2 separate regions of the Homo sapiens genome follow, and region 2 is linked to region 1. Evidence: promoter capture Hi-C in human tissues and cell types (Jung and others, 2019). All regions are on one chromosome and are shown on one strand. The core of a region is centred on a gene start or on the middle of the fragment in contact, and the rest is flanking DNA. Distances in the headings are between cores, read along the strand shown.

Evidence for each region. Contacts are between HindIII fragments. The study calls those that stand out against the background at their distance.
Region 2: a contact is called between a fragment that was not itself captured here and the fragment with the promoter of MGAT3 in region 1, in 4 of the 25 tissues and cell types used here (H1 embryonic stem cells, IMR-90 fibroblasts, dorsolateral prefrontal cortex and 1 more).

What each region holds. Positions count from the first base shown.
Region 1 is chr22:39,455,669-39,458,350 of GRCh38, forward strand. It overlaps MGAT3 (beta-1,4-mannosyl-glycoprotein 4-beta-N-acetylglucosaminyltransferase), which reads left to right and starts at 1,344. Exons shown (of 2, transcript NM_002409.5): 1 at 1,344-1,889. RefSeq lists silencers at 1,270-1,329, 2,060-2,329, 2,340-2,469. The HindIII fragment of the contact is 12,980 bases long and covers 1-2,682 here.
Region 2 is chr22:39,524,291-39,526,972 of GRCh38, forward strand. No RefSeq gene overlaps it. Among named protein-coding and RNA genes, the nearest start is that of ATF4, 5.1 kb to the left of the region's middle. RefSeq lists enhancers at 131-180, 281-330. The HindIII fragment of the contact is 7,295 bases long and covers 1-2,682 here.

The sequences.
Region 1 (2,682 bases), core at 94-2,593:
CTGGACACGTGAAAATGACACGAAATTCAAATTTTTGTGTCCATAAAGTTTTATTGGAACACCGCCAGGCTCATTCTTTTACGTATTGTCTATGGTTGATTTTATGCTACGATGGCAGAGTTGAGTAGTTGGGACAGAGACCATATGGCTGGCAAAGCCTAAAAGATTTACAATCAATCTCTTAAAGCAAATGGTTTGCCCACCCTTGCTTAGAGAGAGCCTCCAGGAAGAAAAGAGCAGTGAGGGTGACGTTGAAGAAGGGGGCAAGACTAGGTCACCAGGGGCTCCCTGTGCCCCGCCCAGGCACTGAACTTAAGCTGAGGGCAAGTGGGAGCCATTGAAGGTGCAGGCAGGAGAGTGACCTGCTCAAGTGAATGTTGGAGTAGGATCACTCTGCCTCCTCAGCAAGGATGGATGAAGCTGGGCACGGAGGCACCTGGAGCAGGTAGACCAGCCCTAGGCAGCCCGGATGGTTCAGCAAAGGCCTCTGGGACTATTCTGGAGCACATTCGCTGGGATATAGAATAGGTAGCGCATCCCTGCACCTTCGACGATGGCGGCGCAGAGATGTCTGCTGCGTACCCACAATGCCTTGTGCCTCGCACCGCGGGAGGAAGTGGCTGCTCTGTAGGCCCCAGAACGGAACCACTTGAAAGGCGGGAAACACGTGGGGGACGCCTCTGAGCCCTGAGAGGAATGGCCTAGAGCAAGGCCACGAGGAGCCAGGGCACGACACGGTGGGCCCTCGGAGAACCGCTGGTGGGCAAGTGGCAGGAGAGTAGGCTCAAGAGGGTTGGCAGGGCCGACCGGGCCTAGGGTGGCCGGGTGAGGGGGGCGGGGGAGGGGAGGCCCCCCCAGTTACCCCAGGAGTGCGCAGGTGGCTTCGGGCATGTGAGGGACGGAGGGGGTCGGACGGAAGGACACAGGCCGGTGTACAGCGGTCACCCACGCCCCAAGCAGACACACAGACTCTGCAGACACCGTAACAGGCCCGGCACCGTGCACACATCACAGGCCCAGGCCTCTGCACATGGTCACAGATGCCTATGCGAAATCCCGGCCCAGGTTCACGCGGGCACAGGCGCATCCACGCACACACCGCAACACGGATCTGCACGTCCATGCACACACAGGCACAGACTCGGGCACACGGAGTCACACCGACCCGGGCACGCTGCGGAACGCACCCGTCCACGCATACACAGAACGGGACTTGCTGCCCCGCACGCACACCAGGCCCGCACTCCGAACTACCCGCATTCCCCGCACACGCCCCCGCGCAGGCCGCCCCGGGCCGTGGGCCGGCGCACGCACGGTCACAGGAGGGGCGCGCGCACACTCGCACTCACACACACTCGCTCGCACACGCACACACTCGATCCAGCACGCGCGGGCGGCGCGGGGCGGCGGCGGCCGGAGTCTGCGGTGCGAGGCGCCCCCGGCCCGGCGCGGCGGCGGAGCCCGGCTGGCGGGGGAGGGGAGGGGGTTGCGGAGGGGGCGGGGTGGGGGCCGGAGCCGCTTGAGCCGGCGGGAGCGGGCACCCCTGCGCGCCGCGCTCGGCCTCGCCTCCGCGCCCCCCGCGCGCCCGCCGCGGTCCCTCCCCCGCGCCCGTCCGCTCGCCGGGCCCCCGCCGCCGCCCCGGGGTGCAGCCGAGCGGCCGCGCCGGGTCCCCGGGACGGGGTGGAAGTGGGGGTGGGGGGAGGGGATCGGGGCCGGGCCGGGGCCGCGCTGCCTGCGATGCCGGGCGCCCGCCGCAGCCGCTGCCGCCGGAGCCCGGGATGGGGCGAGAGGCTGCGGCGGACGCCAGCATCTCCCCGCCGGGGACCCCGGGGGCCGCGGAGCCGCCGCCGCCGCTGCTGCCGCCGTTGCTGAGACCCAGCGGGCGATGGGTGAGTTGACCCCGGCGTCCTGGGGGGCGCCGCGGCCCCTCTATCCCCGCGCTGCCCGCCCTCCCGCGCTGCGCTTGGCGCCCCCCGCCCGGCTCCGCGGCCCACTCCCCGAGCGTGACCTTAGGGGGCGGGCGCGGGCGCACTGGGGCTGGGGGCCCGGAGGCCGCGGTGGGGGCGGGATGCCGGGGAAGCCGCTCGGCGCGGGCCCCCTCCCCCTACCCGCCGCTCCTCCGAGCTCCCCGGTCCCCGGAGGGCAGAGCCTCAGCGCCCGACCCCCTCCCACGGCCGGGCGGGGGACGTCCCCGAGGCGCGGGGCTCGAGCCGTGCTTTGTGCGCGGCACCCCCCAGCCTCCGGCGCGGCTCCCCCACAACCTCCGGCGCGGCGCGGGGCTGGGGTGGGAGGCCTCCGCGCCCGCCTTCCCCACCCCCGACCCCAGACTGCGGCGGCGGCAGCCGAGGCCCAAGCGCAGTCGGGGGCTGGGCGGGTGCGGGGGCTGCGGCCGTAGCTACCCCTGGGGACCAGGCAGAGGCAAATGTGGAGAGGGCCCCCGGCCATTTACCGGGGTGGGGGCCCCCGGCTCCTTGCATTGCTCTGCCCAGGGCGGGGGAGGGAACCTGGCTGAGGGAGGGCGCTATAAATATCTGCAAATAGTGAGTTCTGGAACCGGGAGTGGGGAGGGGAGTGCGCCTGGGTGTGTGTATGGTGGGGTTCCTGAGCTGGGGTGCAGCAGGAAGGGATGCCGCGCGGCCAGACCTAGTGGTCTGAGGTCGGATGACCCCCAGCCCCGGAAGA
Region 2 (2,682 bases), core at 51-2,550, 69 kb after region 1:
CCCACGTGACCTTTCTGGTGCCCAGCATAGACTGTCACCTGAGAGCCAACTGTTGATGGAATGCATGCAGCTGGTTGTGGAGAAGTGGCCCGAGGCACCACTGGGAGTGGGCATCACACATGGGTCTTGGACCTGGTGCTCTTTGAGGTCTTTCCTGTTGAGATTCTAGAATTCTCCAAAGGCCATGGGCCTCCATCCACATCCAGGTACTAAATAGGTGTTAGGGTGTGGCCAGGAGCATCAGAGTCATCCAGTGCCAGTGGGGGTCGGCCCTCATTTGGCAGACGAGAAACTGAGGCACCAAGAAGGGCAGTGCAGGCCAGTGGTGTGGAGCCAGGATGCTGGGGCTGTGCCCTTCCCAGGCCCCTGCAGCTAAGTCCTCCCACACCCAGAAGGCACCAGCTCAGGTCACAGTGGATTTGCCCTTCTCCCTGACCTCACCTCCTCCCCTCACTGTGCTCCCGGCCTCTCTCCATCTGTCTGCCAAGCTTGGTCCTGCCTCAGAGCCTTGCACTTGCTGTTTTTTTGTAACTTTTTTCTCCATTGAGTTTATCTGTATACAGATGAACTTTCTGTTCTCCATTCCCTAACTACAATATAAGCTCACTCTATGGCAGCAGGTATTTTGCTGTCTTGTTCATTCCCGTATTTCCAGGACTTACAGCAGTGCCTGGGAAATAGCAAAAATGACTGCAGCGAAAATGTTCAAAGAGCTCTGAGGTTCTAGGCGCCTTCCAGTGATGAGCTCAGAGTCCTCCTGAGAGGCTGTGAGGAGGGTCTTATGACTGTAACCCTCTTACTGATGCAGCTAAGACCCAGACTTAGGCACCCCCTTGGGAAGTCTGGCCTATGGGTGGACACTGGCCCATGGGCAGGTGGTATAGGCAGTGATAGTGGCCTGGACAGACCGGCTGGATTTGGCTAGGCAGATATCTGTTCCGGAGAGCCCAGCACAATAAGGGGTACGGGAAGAGGGGGCAGAGATGAAGTTGATGTCTGGCCACCACCCTGCATGTGGCAACTTGTGGCCCCTGCCAGGCCTTGGCCAGCCCAGCCTAGGCTGACCAGGTCAGAGGTGGAGCTGGGCTTTACCCAGTGACCAGGGGCCCGGGGCTGGGGGATAGGAAGGGACCTCACAGGCGGGAGCAGACAGCACTCAGCATTTTCTCCTGCTTTGTGTCTGGGACAAGGCTGTAGGTTGTGGAGAGCAGAGAACGACCTTCATCTTTTCTACAACTAGTCCTGAGTGGGTGCCTGCTCTGCACTACACTGTCTGGGTGCTGGCTACAGCAGTGAGCCAAATAGATAAACATCCCTGCCCTCATGGAGCTTTGCTTCTGGTAAAGGAGACAGGTGGACCCTAAAAAGAAGAAAGAGGTGACGTGTCACATTCAGATGTGACACAGCAGCTGGGTAGGGCTTGGACATGCTGGGCATGCTCCTTAAGACTGGTGCTTAGGGAGTTGCAGGGGTCAGCCCGGCAGGGGACTGGGCTGGGATTGGCAAGGAGAGGCGGCCAGGATATGGGTGTGAAGAGAGGGAACCCCCCCGCTGCCAAACAAGAGAAAGGATGGAGGGCCCATTTCCTGAGATGGGGAAAACCATGGGAAGAGCATGATTTTATTTCAAAGAGGCCAGGGAGAAATAAAAAGTCCCTGGCTTTGGGAGGCCAAGGCAGGTGGATCACAAGGTCAGGAGTTCAAGAACAGCCTGCCCAATATGGTGAAACCCCTATCTCTACTAAAAAATTAGCTGGGCATGGCGGCACGTGCCTGTAATCCCAGCTACTCGGGAGGCTGAGGCAGGAGAATCGTTTGAACCCAGGAGGCAGAGGTTGCAGTGAGCCAAGATCACGCCACTGCACTCCAACCTGAGTGACAGAGTAAGACTCCCATCTCAAAAAAAAAAAAGAAAAAAGAAAAAGCCCTTGCAGTGACACTCAAGTGCCAACCACCCTTGCCCAGGTGCCCCATGAGGTGGGGTGGGGGCTCTCAGCCTAGTTGGGAAACGGAAGGTGGATGCTTAGACCAAGTAGAAAGTGGCAGCTTCAGAAGAGAGAGCAGGGCCTCCCAGCTGGGCTTTGAGGGGTGGGGAGAGTTGTGGACAGAGAATGAGAACACCCCATGAAAGTCAGCCGGGCAGGCTGGGCGCGGTGGCTCACGCCTGTAATCCCAGCACTTTTGGAGGCCGAGGTGGGCGGATCACGAGGTCAGGAGATCGAGACCATCCTGGCTAACATGGTGAAACCCCGTCTCTACTAAAAATACAAAAAAAATTAGGTGTGGTGGTGGGTGCCTGTGGTCCCAGCTACTCAGGAGGCTGAGGCAGGAGAATGGCTTGAACCCAGGAGGCGGAGCTTGCAGTGAGCTGAGATGGCGCCACTGCACTCCAGCCTGGGGGACAGAGCGAAACTCCGTCTCAAAAAAAAAAAAAAAAAAAAAAAAGTCAGCCTGGCAGGAAAGAATGGGGCACACACCAAGTGCCACAGTCCCACTGCCTGTGGCGGAGGCCTTTGCCCAGGCTAAGCTCTGAGCCTGCAGCTGGGCCTCAGCAGAGTCCCATGTTGCAGTCCTGGCCCACTCCTGCCTGGCCCCCTTGGCCAACTCCTCTAGTAGCAAAGAGGGCCAGAGAGTGTGGGGGCTTGAGCAGCCCATCCCACTGTGGAAGACACAGGAAGCCATG